Linked DNA regions of Homo sapiens: region 2 is linked to region 1. The links are contacts of gene promoters, found by promoter capture Hi-C in human tissues and cell types (Jung and others, 2019). All regions are on one chromosome and are shown on one strand. The core of a region is centred on a gene start or on the middle of the fragment in contact, and the rest is flanking DNA. Distances in the headings are between cores, read along the strand shown.

Region 1 (7,524 bases), core at 1,392-3,891:
TTCACTCTCTGGCCCTTTACAGAAAAAGTTTGCCAATCCTTCCTCTAATCAGTTTGGGCACAGGATCATGAAATGCTGGGTCTTTCTAGGGGAGAATACGCTTTCTTTCCCTTTCTCCTTCTACTTGAAAGAATTGTTTATGGTCACTTTGAGGCCCAGCTGTTACTACTTTACACCTTCATCTCTTTTTTTTGTTTGTTTTTTTGAGACACAGTTTCACTCTGTCACCCAGGCTGGTGTGATCTTGGCTCACCGCAACCTCCACTTCCTGGGTTCAAGCAATTCTTTTTTTTTGTGAGACGGAATCTTGCCCTGTCACCCAGGCTGGAGTGCAGTGGCATGATCTCGGTTCACTGCAACCTCTGCCTCCCAGGTTCCAGCTATTCTCCTGCCTCAGCCTCCCGAGTAGCTGGGATTACAGGCACCCGCCATCATGCCCGGCTAATTTTTGTATTTTTGTAGAGACAGGGTTTTATCATGTTGGCCAGGCTGGTCTCGAACTCCTGACCTCAGGTGATCCACCCGCCTCGGCTTCCCAAATTGCTGGGATTACAGGCATGAGCCACCACCCCCGGCCGGGGTTCAAGCAACTCTTATGCCTCAGCCTCCCAAGTAGCTGGGACCACAGGTGCCCACCACCATACCAGCTAATTTTTTTTTTTTTTGAGACAGAGTCTCACTTTGTCGCCCAGGCTGGCGTGCAGTGGCACGATCTCAGCTCACTGCAACCTCTGCCTCCCAGGTTCAAGTGATTCTCCTGCCTCAGTCTCCCGAGTAGCTGGGATTACAGGGGTGTGCCACCACACCTGGCTAATTTCTGTATTTTTTTTTTTTTTTGAGACAGAGTTTTGCTCTTGTTGCCCAGGCTGGAGGGCAATGGCGCAGTTTCGGCTCACTGCAACCTCCACCTCCCGGGTTCAAGCGATTCTCCTGCCTCAGCCTCCCGAGTAGCTGGGATTACAGGCATGCGCCACTACGCCTAATTTTGTATTTTTAGTAGAGACGGGCTTTCTCCATGTTGGTCAGGCTGGTCTCAACTTCCTGACCTCAGATGATCCGTCCGCCTCGGCCTCCCAAAGTGCTGGGATTACAGGCATGAGCCACTGGGCCCAGCTTTTTTTTTTTTTTTTTTTTTTTTTGAGACAGAGTCTCACTCTGTCACCTGGGCTGGAGTGCAGTGGCTCCATCTCGGCTCACTACCACCTCTGCCTCCAGGGTTCAAGTGATTCTCCTGCCTCAGCCTCCCGAGTAGCTGGGATTACAGGCGCCCGCCACTACGCCCAGCTAGGTTTTGTATTTTTAGTAGAGACAGGGTTTCACCATGTTGCCCAGCTGGTCTCGAACTCCTGACCTCGTGATTCACCCGCCTCAGCCTCCCAAAGTGCTAGGATTACAGGGGTGAGCCACCGCGCCTGGCCTAATTTCTGTATTTTTAGTAAAGACGAGGTTTCACCATGTTGGCCAGGCTGGTCTCAATCTCCTGACCTCAAGTGATCTGCCCGTCTCGGCCTCCCAAAGTTCTGGGATTACAGGCATGAGCCACTGTGCCCGGCCTACACCTTTATCTCCTTACAGAAGTTTCATATTTTGTTGGGATGATATCATTTCCATTTAGCTCAGGAATTTTCAGTAAGTCAAGCACTAGGAAAAATGTAAAAAGCAAGGGAACAGTGAATTTGGCCCTGTGAATAATATAATTTTGACCTTCTAAAACACACCATAAGTTCTTTATTTTGAGACAGAGTCTCAGTCGCCCATGCAGGAGTGCAGTAGTGTGATCTCAGCTCACCACAACCTCTGCCTCCAGGGTTCAAGCCATTCTTCTGCCTCAGCCTCCCGAGTAGCTGGGATTACAGACACACGCCGCCATGCCCAGCTAATTTTTGTATTTTTAGTAGAGATGGGGTTTCACCGTGTTGGCCAGGCTGTTCTCAAACTCCCGACCTCAGGCAATCCACCTGCCCTGGCCTCCCAAAGTGATGGGATTACAGCATGAACCACTGCGCCCGGCTGAGTTCTTGAATCTATCCTACATTTGAAAAAATCCATCTAACCAGAAGAACTTTGAGCCAAGAAACTAGAGGTCATCTTCCACTGTTTGTCCCAATATCTGTGGATGTGGGGACTATTGTCTTCACTAAGGATACATCAGGAAGTGAATTTGCCAGCTTTGCCCAGGACCATGAGGTCGGTTCATTATACCCAACGGTGCCGCCTAGACTCACTAGAACATCCGTTTCCCTGAGACTCCTGAGATTGAATCAATATGGTGTAAAAAAAATGGAGCCATCCTTACCTTATTCTTCTCACTGTCTCTTTGACACTGCAGTATCACAAACGGCACAACAGCAAACAAAAGCCAGAGCCATTTGCTCCCAAGCCAGCCTTGGGTGTGCTCTGGTAGGTTCTGCCGAATCCGAAAGTGCTCTCCACACGGCACCTTCCCCTGGGGTTCGCTAGTTTTCTGTCTCAGAGAAGAGAACATAAAGGCATAGCTGCAGGTGAGGCACAGAAGCAGGACCAGGGACGATTTCAGCGTCCACATGGTGAGCAGAGATGGGGAAGGGAGTTGCTCATGACGGGTTTGCTTGCCCTCGCAACTGGAAGACTGGGCACCTGGTGCCAGGCCCTTGGTGATGTCACAGAGGCCCTGAGCTGAGGCCACCCTGGCCATTGTGATGATTTCAGGACAGAGGTTACAGGTCACAGGAGTCGCCCGGGAGGAGGACTCAAAGGGAGATGGGGGCATTTCCAGCAGGCAGTCAGAGAGAGAGGATAGGCACGACGGGGTGCCAATTCCCTGCCAGGGGACTCTTTCCAACCCTCGAGCTTTTGCTGGTAGAGGCCGTCATGTTTCTGTTTTTCATTTGTTTGATCCAAACACTATGATGAGCAGAGGGAGATGCCATGTGCCCCGTGGAGCTGAGTTAAATGGGAGAGAAAGATATTAAACCACAGGCTACCTACAAACTCGGAGCCACCTATGTGTTTTGTTTGGCCTATGTTGTTTCTAAAAATTATTAGTCAGTACTTAAATGTTGTGGGGGGTGGGTATTTCACTTTAAAAGTCCAGGTTTCCGGCTTCCTTTGAAAATATGAGAGCGTGGCCGGGCGCGGCAGCTCACGCCTGTAATCCCAGCACTTTGGGAGGCTGAGGCGGGCAGATTACGAGGTCAAGAGATCGAGACCATCCTGTCCAACGTGGTGAAACCCCGTCTTTACTAAAAATACAAAAATTAGCTGGATGTGGTGGCACACGCCTGTAGTCTCAGCTACTTGGGAGGCTGAGACAGGAGAATCACTTGAACCCAGGAGGCAGAGGTTGTGATGAGCCGAGATCACGCCACTGCACTCCAGCCTGGCAACAGAGCAAGACTCTGTCTCAAAAAAAAAAAAAAAAAAAAAAGAAAAAGAAAAAGAAAGAAAAGAAAATATGAAGAGTTCTGGAAGCACTGGGCCCACACTGTCATAGAACCAGTCTTCTGCTAGAGCCAAGTGAAATCATCCATCCTGTGGCCATATTCCCTCCACAGTCCCCACCACTCCCTATTACCACATACCATCATTGACAGCAGCAGTGTGTGCCTGCCTTGGGTTAAGAGTATACTTTGGAGCCAGGCCTGGTGGCTCACACTTGTAATCCCAGCACTTTGGGAGGCCAAGGTAGGCAGATCACCCAAGGTCAGAAGTTTGAGACCAGCCTGGCCAACATGGTGAAACCCTATCTCTACTAAAAATACACAAATTAGCCAGGCATGGTGGCATGTGCCTGTAATCCCAGCTACTTGGGAGGCTGAGACGGGAGAATCACTTGAACCCAGGAAGTAGAGGTTACAGTGAGCTTAGATGGCGCCACTGCACTCCAGTCTGGGCAACAGAGCAGGGCTCAGTCTCAAAAAAAAAAAAAAAAAAGAAAAGAAAAGAAAAGAAAAGAAAAAAAGAGTATACATTGGGCCAGGCACAGGGGCAGGGGCTCACACCTGTAATCCCAGCACTTTGGGAGGCCAGGGTGGGCAGATCACCTGAGGTCAGGAGGAGTTCCAGACCAATCTGGCTAACATAGCGAGACCCCATCTCTACTAAAAATACAAAAATTAGCCAGGTGTGGCAATGCACGCCTGCAATCTCAGCTACTTGGGAGGCTGAGGCAGGAGAATCATTTGAACCTTGGAGGCAGAGGTTGCAGTGAGCTGAGATCAAGACACTCTACTCCAGCCTGGGTGACAGAGTGAGACTGTGTTTCAGAAAAGAAAAAAGAGTATAGTTCGATTAAAATTGTGGTAAGAGGCCGGGCACGGTGGCTCATGCCTGTAATCCCAGCACCTTGGGAGGGTGAGGTGGGTGGATCACCTAAGGTCGAGAGTTTGAGACCAGCCAAGCCAACATGGAGAAACCCCATCTCTACTAAAAATACAAAAAAATTAGCTGGGCATGGTGGTGCATGCCTGTAATCCCAGCTACTCGGGAGGCTGAGGCAGGAGAATTGCTTGAACCTGGGAGGCAGAGGTTGCGGTGAGCTGAGATTGTGCCATTGCACTCCAGCCTGGGCAACAAGAGCGAAACTCCATCTCAAAAAAAAAAAAAAAACAAAGAAAGAAGAAAAAACAATTGTGATAAGAACAGGAAGCTTTAGAGACGAGCACAAGGGGACTGCTCTATACTAGGTTATGCAGGAAGAGTGTCCAGAAAAAGATGGTTGAGTAGAGCAGGGGAGATGATTAGGAGTTGGTGGGTAAAATGGGAAGGGGCTGAATCCCCCAAGTGAGAAGGAACAGCTAGCTTGACAACTGAGGCCAAGGCTGGGAATGAACCTAGGACTCCACAGTATACCTGAAACCATGAGTTCTTTAAAATGACATGAAACAAGAAATCCTGGGTGCTGGAATGCACGGCTTGTACTTGTTCCCCTGGGTCATCTGTAGAGCTATCTTCCTGAGGAAGGCTCTGATTCGCAGATTTACTCCCGAGGAGCAGAACTTTATGCTGCATAGGAAATAATCAAGAGTCAGCTGGGCACCCTCGCTGTGCCTTAAATTGTACTGAGCTCTGTGGAGTGACAAAGAAGTTCTACAAGCTATGGCCAGGGGCAGTGGCTCATGCCTGTAATCCCAGCACTTTGGGAAGCCAATGTGAGCAGATCATCTGAGGTCAGGAGTTCGAGACCAGCCTGACCAACATGGTGAAACACTGTCGCCACTAAAAATACAAAAAAAAAAAAAAAAATTAGCTGAGTGTGGTGGTGCATGCCTGTAATCTTAGCTACTTGGGAGGCTGAGGCAGGAGAATCGCTTGAGCCCAGGAGTTGCGGCTGCAATGAGCTCAGATGATGCCATTGCACTATAACCTGGGCAACAGAGCAAGACTCTGTCTCTAAAAAAAAATGAATAAATTCTCCTGAGCAGTCTAGGGGAAAAAGAACAGAACACATGTGGTACATACCATAGTTGTTCAATGAATCCTTCTGTAAAATGATGTCTGATCTGGCCCTTATCAACCCAGCAAACCCAACTTCCTCCATTCCCACCTGCCCTGCCAGCGTCCTCTCTGCTCCTCCACATGACAAACTTGAGCAAACTCTTCCCTTTGTCCTGACATCTGCCTGGACCACTTTTCCAGAATCCTTTTCCTGCCTATGACTTTGTCCTCCATTCCTGCTCCTTGCCAAAATGGCATACAGTAGATACTCAGTATGTTGTTGAATGGATGGATGAGTGGGTGGGAGGGTGGATGGGTGGGTGGGTAGATGGATGGATGGGTTAGTGGGTGGGTGGATGGATGAATGGATGGATGGATGGGTGGATGGTTGGATGGATGGGTGTGTGGGTGGGTGGGTGGTTGAGTGGATTTTTGTTGTCGTTGTTGTTTTGAGACAGAGTCTTGCTGTGTCGCCCAGGCTGGAGTGCAGGGGCACTATGTCAGCTCACTGCAAGCTCTGCCTCCCAGGTTCAAGTGATTCTCACTCCTCAGCCTCCTGAGTAGCTGGGACTACAGGTGCATGCCATCACGCCTGCCTAATTTTCGTATTTGTATTTATTATTTGTTTATTTATTTATTCTTTTTTTGAGATGGAGTCTCTGTTGCCCAGGCTGGAGTGCAATGGCGTGATCTCGGCTCACTGCAACCTCCACCTCCTGGGTTCAAGAGATTCTCCTGCCTCAGCCTCCTGAGTAGCTGGGATTACAGGCACACGCCAACACACCCAACTAATTTTTGTACTTTTAGTAGAGATGAGGTTTCACCATGTTGGCCAGGCTGGTCTCAAATTCCTGACCTCAGATGATTCACCTGTCTCGGCCTCCCAAAATGCTGGGATTATAGGACTGAGCCATTGTGCCAGGCCTGTATTTTTATTTTTTAATTATTATTATTTTTGAGATGGAGTCTCACTCTGTCACCCACTGGAGTGCAATGGCACAATCTCAGCTCACTGCAGCCTCCGCCTCCAGGGTTCAAGCAATTCTCCTGCCTCAGCCTCCCAAGTAGCTGGGATTACAGGCACCCACCACCATGCTTCGCTAATTTTTGTATTTTTAGTAGAGACAGGGTTTCACCTTGTTGGCCAGGGTGGTCTTGAACTCCTGACCTCAGGTGATCCGCCTACCTTGGCCTCCCAAAGTGCTGGGATTACAGGTGTGAGCCACCACACCCAGCCTAAGAATAATTTGTTTTCTTTTTTTTTGAAATACGGTCTCACTCTGTCACTTAGGCTGTAGTGCAATGGCACAATATTGGCTCACTGCAAACTCCGCCTCCTGGGTTCAAGCGATTCTCCTGCCTCAGCCTCCCAAGTAGCTGGGATTACAGGCAGGCACCACTGCACCCGGCTAATTTTGTATTTTTAGTAGAGACAGAGTTTCACCATGTTGGCCAGGTTGGTCTCAAACTCCTGACCTCAGGTGATTCACCCACCTCGGCCTCCCAGAGTGCTGGGATTACAGGTGTGAGCCACCATGCCGGGTCTTCTTTTGGGTTTTAATGGCAGCTTCATTAAACAGGGATGATACACAATCATGAAGAAATGTGATTGGGCCAAAAATTAATATGCTCTCATATTAACAGACTGATTGGGGAACCCATCAGGGCCTGTCCAGATTCCTCTTGGTCTCTCTGTGCAGCTTTCCTTGCTCTAGGGTATGCGGCATGACCCTCTCGAATGAGGTCTTTGGGCTCCCAATCTGATTAGAGTCCTACCTTGGGCAGGGAAAGGAGGACAGAAAGTCAGAGAGAGAGATTCTGTTTCCCTAGGACTACTCCTAAGGACTAAAGCACCCCAACTTTTTTTTTTGGACACAAGGTCTGGCTCTGTCACCCAGGCTGGAATGCAGTGGTGCAATCATAGCTCACTGCAACCTCCACCTCCTGGGCTCAGGGGATCCTCCCACCTCAACCTCCTGAGTAGCTGGGACTACAGGTGCATGCAACCATGCCCGGCTAATTTTTTTTTTTTTTTTTTTTTTTTGTAGAGAGGGTTTTGCCATGTTGTGCAGGGTGGTCTTGAACCTCTGGGCTCAAGTGATCTGCCTT
Region 2 (7,524 bases), core at 2,462-4,961, 540 kb before region 1:
TGTGAGGCAGGAGGTCTGTGTGCAACTGAAATGTAAACTCCTGGAGGCCAAAAACATAGATCTTATCCCTGGTGCCCAGCATTTGGTGGGTGCTACATAACTCTTGGATGAACGTGGGCTGGTGCTGTGTTTACCAGGCTTATTGGTCTTGAATAAGAGAAACCCAACCTGAACCAGCTTCAGATACAGGGGAATCTGACAGAATGCTCCAAGGGCAGCATGCAACCAGGCCAAGGGAACCCAGCAATCAGGACTCAAGCACCTCTTGTCTCTGAACCTCTGCCTCATTCTCTTCTCTCTAGAAAAGATTGGATTCTTTAACTTCTCATGGCCATCAGCAACATCCAAGGTTTACATTCTACCATGTAGGTCCCAAAAGAGTATTTCCCAGGGAAGTATACTGATTGGTTCAACTTGAATCCTGTGCTCATCTCTGGACCAATCAAAGGAAACCAGGAAGTTATAATCATAACACAGTATGGCTGCTTCTACTGACACCAAGTTAATGGTGGTGAGGGGTTCTTGGGAAGGTTCTTTTTCTATTCTTAGAGATGAGGTGCTGAGCTGATAATCCCATGGGTGTGTATGAAAGAAGTCAATTTATAAGAAAGAATTAGTTTTTAGACGTTTATAAAAAGTAACACATTCTCATTGTAATAAATGCTGGTTACAGAAGGGGAAAAATCAACCATCATTCAACAGCTCAGAGATAGTCACGGTTAACCTTCTTCACCTCTCTCTGGCTGTTCCTTCGAGGTCTCCTTTGCTGTTCCTGAACGCTGGAGGGCCCCAGGGTGCATCCTTGGATCTCTGTTTGTTCTATGCATATTTACTCACTCCCTCGTGAGCTCATCCAGCCTCTTCCTGTCCTGAAGATTTCTCAGTTTCCATCTCCTGCCTAAGCCTCTCCCTGACACCTGCCTAGTATATCCAGTGATCCCAACATCCCAGGATATACTAGGGACTGTATATCCTGAGCAACCGTCAAAGTTGGTCCCTTTTGGAGGCTCTGAGGGAGAGTCTGTTCCAGCCTCTCTCCACGCTCCTGGGCTTCTGGGCAATCACTGGCATTCCTTGGCTTGCAGCCATGTCACACCAATCTCAGTTTCCATCATCACATCACGTTTTCTCTGCATGTCTGTGTCTGTCTATGTCTCTGTGTCTCTTCTTCCAAGGACACCAGTCATACTGGATTTGGGCCCAACCTATTTCACTATGACTTCATCTTACCTTGATTATATCTGCAAAGACCCTGTTTCCAAATAAGGTCCCGTCCCCAGGTCTCTTCTGCATAGCCACTGTTTACATATTCCTGTCTTCTCTAAGCCTAGATGCTGCCAGAGTCCCTCTCAGAGCCTTGAAATCCCCTCTGAGGTTGGCTAAGTGAAGATCACCATCCCCACGTTGCAGGGGAGTCTTGAAGAGATGTTGACATGTCCAGGATGGAGCGAGGCATCCCCAATGCCAACGCCCAACGCCAACACCCACCTTCCAGCCACTCACGTTCACTGGCAACAATTTCAAAGCAAACGCCTCAGCGTAGGCTGTGGAGGGAGGGGTGTATGCACTGGCGGGAGGCTGCCTGCTCACCATTCAGCTTTGGATCCCTCCTAACCGGCACCCACCAGGCCAGGCCACCAGTGTCCCCTTCAGGACTTTGCTTATGCAAAGTGGAATGCCCTCTTCTGGGCCCCACACAACCCACCTTGTCCTTCCACCTCAGAGCTAGTGTCCTTTTGGGTGACATCTGCCCTGACCCCTGCCCCGTTCCCAGACAGCGCCTGGCACCTCCCTGGAGCCATCCGCGCTAAACACTGAAGCATGCTCATGTTGCCCTCGGTTACTCTCCCAGTTTCCACTGCTCGGCTGAGCACCCGAGGCCGGGACAGAATTCAGTTCCTGAGGGCCTGGCCAGTTGCAGAGGCCTCTCAGCCAGGTGAGCACAGCAAGGTAAAGGGTCCTGGACCACAGGGGAGCTCCGGAATCAGGCAGAGCTGGGCTTGGATCTCCTCGGATCTCCATCCTCCCATTTAATCTCTGTGCTGTCTTGGGTAAGTGCTTGGGTTGGATCGTGTCCCCCGAAAAGACATCCTCAAGTCCTGATCCCTGTGAATGGGACCTTATTGGGAAATGGGGTCTTTGCAGATGTAACTAGTTAGTATAGGGTCATACTGGATCGAGTAAGTGCTAAATCCAGTGACTGGTGTCCTTAAAAGAAAGGACACAGACACACAGAGGGAAGAAGGCCACGTGACACAGGACACAGAGGTTGGAAGGATATGTCCAAAAGCCAAGGAACACCAAGGATGACCAGCAGCCACTGGAAGCTGGAAGCGGCCAGAAAGCGTCCTCCTCTAGAGCCTGTGGAAGAGCCTGGCCTGCGGGCACCTTGATTTGGGGCTTCTAGCCTCCAAAAATGCGAGAGAACAAGTTTCTGTTGTTTTAAACCACAACCGCAATTTGTTACGGCAGCCCTGGGAAACTAATGTAAGTTACCCTATCCGTGCCTCAGTTTCTTCATCTGTGAAACAGGTATAAGGGCACCAACCCAAGGTGATCCGGATGATGAAATGACAGTTTCCAGCATTTTCCTCCTGTGTGCCGGGCACTGTGCCAAGTGCCATAAATATGTTAACTTATGTAAAACGCTGTGTAATTCTGCTTTAAAATCTTATTATGCTCAGATTACATGTTTTTTAAAAAAAGTGTTGGCTACAAACAGTATGTATAATTCTGTTTTAAAATCGTATTATACTCAGATTTCATGGTTTTTTAAAAACTTGTCTTGGCAACAAACTGTATTTGAACTATTGGTCAACACTTTTAAAATAATGTTATTGAAGTATTATATACAATAACATGCACAGAGTTTAAGGGTGGCATTTGATACATTGTGGCAAACATGTACACCCTTCCACACTCAGAACAAGACGTGGAACACGGCCCCCCTCACCCCAGGAAGACCCCACCTCCTTCTGCCCTGGGTGGCCGTGGTGCTGCTTTCTGGCTGCAGATTGGTTCTGGCCTTCTGGCCTGTTTTCGAGCTTTATGTAAGCAAGATCACCCCGTTTGTCCTCTTCCAGGTCTGGCGTCCTTCCCTTAGGCATCTGTGTTTCAGCTCTATCCTTGCTGCTGCTGCACCCGAAACCTGCTCCTTCGTATTTTAGAGTACCCACTGCATGGGGCACCAGTTTCATGATCCGCTGTCCCGATGCCTGTTCCTTGTTTTCAGTCCCCCGTTCTACAGAGGAGGAAATGAGCCGCAGGGAAGCTTTTGACTTGGGCAAGTTCTCACCGCTACTGAGTCTGGGGTTGGTACGGAGTGACGCTCTCAGCAAAGGTCTATGCTTCTATGCGTATGATAGTGCCTTGCTATGCCAGGCGTGTGGGGAGTGTGCCATGCTATGATAATGATTATTAAGAAATGGCTTAATTAAATATGTGTGATTACATTTATTTCATTATTAAATTTCAGAACCAGGAATGGTAGCTGGTCTCAATGGTTCTACCCAGGACCCAACTGCTGTCTGTCAAATAGGTGTTTGTTCCAAGCAAAGACCTGGGTACTCCCACACTGCGGCTGGAGCCAGCCCTGCAGTAGCCCCACTCCTTCCGAGAGCCCCTCACTCACCCTTCTGGGGGCCTCATTGAGGAAGGCTGAGCAAGAGAATGACATTAAACTTCAAACGTCTCTTTGTCTCTGAAATTAATGGAGAAGAGAAGTCTTTAATGGGTTGCAGACTTGTCTGTGGGCTACAGTGACATGACTCAGCCCAATCATCCTCCCAGCTCTGGCCATCTTGGCTTAGCTGTTTACCAAGAGACCAGGGGATGGAGATGTTGAGGGCTTAGGGTGACGGAGGCAGCACCAAACCTGCACCTCCAGCCCTGGTATGCTGGCATTCAGGAAAGCTGTGCTCGCCTAGCGTGGTCTCCAGTTTCCTTTTGGGGAGTGATGTAGTTCCCTCCTCTCAGGAAAGCAGTAACTCAGTCCTGCCTGGCAGTGGGAGAAGGGCTGTAGAGAGATGTAGAGAGGTGTTTCTTAGCCTGTCACATGCCCAGGAGTTCCCAAGGGATCCTGTGAAAATGCAGTTTCTGACTTGGGAGGTCTGGGGAGGGGTCTGGGACACCGCATTTCTACAGAGCTCCCAGGAAATGCTAAGGTTTCTGGTCCGTGAGCTGTAGATTGCAAGTTGCAATCTGACTTAGGGTATATTCCCATCAACACACCCGCACATACGTGCACACACAGGCTGGAGGGGGAGGTGGAGGGTGGGCATAGAGCTATCTGGGGCTGACTCCAGCTCCACTAGGATTCACCTGTGTGTCTTGGAGCAAGGTAGTCCATCTCTCAGAGCTCCAGTTTTCTCAGCTGTAAAATAGGAGGAAAGCCAGTGACTACATCAGGCTGTTGTGAGGATTAAAGGAGATCACATGTAAGGGGGTTTATGATGAGAAAGGGCCGAGAGAGGAGAGACAGCTAGATGGCGAGAGAGACAGAGAGTGAGGAAAAACACACACAGAGACAGAAAGACAGGGAGAGAGACAGAGAGCCAGGGCGCCAGCAGGCAGCATTCCTTTTCAGACTCCTCTGCACTGTGTGAGTGCCCTAACCGGTTCCTTCCCTCTCTCTCCCCGCTTTCCTTTGTGTATTTATTTATTTACTTGTTCGATGGTTCATTTATTTGTTTTAATACCCCCCGACATCATCTGGGCCATGACATTCTGAGCCACATGATGGAAGGCTCAGGAATTGTTGTAAAGTGTCACTTACATCTCCGATGTTTGTGTGAACAGCACGCACGGCGGTGACAGTGATAATGGAGGTCACGTGAGCTCTCTGATGTCTCATCAGGTCCCGCTGGGCAGCCAGTATCGGCTTGTAATGATCCCTGCAGACAGGTCAGGGGAACTTGCCACAGCGCTGGGTCTCAGTATAGCACTTGCGGTAGTTTTTATTCTCCTCTTTGCATTTTTAGAAGTATTTTCCTAAGTGTGTAATATTTTAATGAAACATAATGTTTGTTGTTAGGGCACATGTAATGAGGACCCAGTATGGGCTATATAGGCGGCTAACCAAGAATGTAATCAGTGTTCCATTCAATCTGCGTGTTCAGTCATCGCTGGAACATCCCAGCCTGTCAGATACCCTCTGCACTGTCAGAAATTCCCTGCATTACGCTTCACGCCTTCAACTCTTGAAAGCCTGATTTTTGGAAGGGCAGGGGTGACTCAAAGACAATTGTTGCCTTTTGCAGCTGATTCTCTCCGTAATATGGAACCCCAGGATTTGAGACAGCATCAGTGGCCGCCTGCCATGATGCCCCAGGAATGTCTGGTCCATCTCCATAAGCCAGGGCTTGGCAGGAGCTTGGTTTGTGGATGAGCCAAGTTCTTGGGTGGGACCTGCTATGATTTGAGCACTGGGGACTGGTCCCTAAAATCTCTCATGTCCATGTTAAAAAGAACTGTTCTCTTGATTGCTACTTCTCCAGCAGTAAAGCACTCACCTAGGTGACAAGATCTCAGCTGTGACTGGGCTGAACATGGCATTGGCCAACCAAGCTCTAGAGGTTCCCATCTGTTTGGGGTCAGCCCTGGAGCAGAGGAAAGTCTTTTAAACTGGAGAAGCTGGGCCACACATTCCTGGGGAGAAGAGTGACCCTTGGAGGCCAAGTTTCTCTTCATCTCATGGAAAAGGTGGGGGCATTGGGCGAGGTGGGGCTGGGAAGAAAACTCAAGTCAGCTGCCAACAGGCCAAGCCCCCCCACCTGGGAAGAGGCTGAGAGAGCTGCCTGGAGCCCATAAAAGCCAGTCCCCCTCAGGGCTGGCTCCAGGGTTTATTAAATACTAGGCCTTCTAGACTAGGAAAAGACTAAACAAAATGTGGTTTTCCTCTGTGAACTGATTGCATCTGGGGGTGCACTTCCCGAAGACCAGTCTGCAGGGATCCCTGGCCTGGTGTAGACATTCTGCCCCTTGACCCTGGTCTGAGGCCCTGGACTAGGGTCACTGGCTTCCCTGAGGACAGCCCATCAATGCCAGGAGGGGGAGGGGAGTGGGTCAGTAGCTTAGGGAGGGGATGAGGATGGATCCACAGGCCCCGTGTTGTTCAGTGTGGAAGCTGGTGGGGCCTGGGCAAAAGGAGAAGATAAGAGTCTAGTCCTGGGATTGCGTCCTTCCCTGCCACAGCAGCTACTGTGAAGACCAGGTACTTAGGAAGAGTGGGACCACTCCAGCTAAACCAAGTGACCCTGTCTTCCCGGAAACTGGGCGGTTCCTCTCCTGCGATGTGGGGAAGGGTGAGAATGGGCTGGTGGAGATGCAGGTGGAGGGCAGGTGGGAGGATTCTGAGGCTCTGCGGCACTACTTTTGCACCCTCCCCTCATTTTCCACGGTGATTCATTTTCTTTTCTTTGAGTTATCGTTGGAGTAAGAAATGCAAACAAGGCAGCTACAGTCCTTAGATCCTTAGGTCAGACAAGTAGCATTCGCAGTCACAGCTGAGTGTCTTGGCCTGAATACTGTGGCCGGTCAGAGAGCAGCTGGGCGGGGACCTGTGAGCAGATTCCTGTCCTTGTTCCTGTCCTGTGGCTGAGACCATCCATCCGGGGCCAAATGGTGGATTCCCTCTTCTGTCTTAGGGAAGTTTCCTTTTCGCCTGCAGGAAACCCTTGGGAGCAAGCACAGCTTTTCAGAACCCATTCTGACAAATTACAAAATAAGACTTTTGCCCCAGTTTTTCTCTGCACGATTTGACTTAATGTCAAATAGTGTCATTGGTCTTGATGAAAGTTATTTAAAAGAAAAAGTGAAATTGTCCATAAAAGCCTGCAGTTATAACCAGAAGTATCTGGGTTAGGTGAAGCTACAAGTTACAAGACAGTCTTGTCCCAGATTCCTAGGAAGAAGGGGATTGGCTTCAATCCTACATGCTTTGCTTAAGATTGATTTATCTCAAATAAGTATTGAGATGCATTTATTACCACCTACTACCTATCAGCTGCTTAGCCCTGTAAACTTCTATAAGCATGCCCAAAAGTCACCTCCTCAGTGAAGCCTTCCCCGGCTTCCTCAGGTTGCCTCTTCTGCATTCCTATGACATTTTATTCACCTGTCTATCACAAGACTCTCCAGTTTATGTATTTCTAATAATAAAGTAACCTTAAGGAAGCTGTGACCCATGAGGGTCAATGACCAAGACCTTGGAGAAGTGATGTGTGCAAGATGCACAGTTCTGCAGCCAGAACGATGTTTGAAAGCACCTCCATTTGCTACTTTCAAAAGAACATAAAGAGCGTAATGGAAATTCATCATGTTTGGTTGCCTGGCCCCATTTCCCCTTCATAACCATGACAGTTTTGATTCAAGGGCTTGCCCTCCTCCATTTACAGATAGGGCACTGGGCTTACAGCACCCCTCCCCTCCACACAAGACAGACAGAAGTAGGCACATGAACCACACCAAGTCAGTCAGATAGCCCACTTTGGAACCTGAGTCTCAAGCAAAGGGACAAAGAGGCTG

Evidence for each region. Contacts are between HindIII fragments. The study calls those that stand out against the background at their distance.
Region 2: a fragment that was not itself captured here is called in contact with the fragment with the promoter of FAM209B in region 1 in 1 of the 25 tissues and cell types used here (lymphoblastoid cells).

Annotation. Positions count from the first base shown.
Region 1 is chr20:56,528,363-56,535,886 of GRCh38, reverse strand. FAM209B (family with sequence similarity 209 member B) reads right to left here and starts at 2,641. Exons shown (of 2, transcript NM_001013646.4): 1 at 2,297-2,641. The coding sequence starts at 2,545. It also overlaps a transcript of FAM209A not described here. The HindIII fragment of the contact is 6,468 bases long and covers 2,078-7,524 here.
Region 2 is chr20:57,068,689-57,076,212 of GRCh38, reverse strand. No RefSeq gene overlaps it. Among named protein-coding and RNA genes, the nearest start is that of BMP7-AS1, 140 kb to the left of the region's middle. RefSeq lists an enhancer at 4,557-5,120. The HindIII fragment of the contact is 6,302 bases long and covers 561-6,862 here.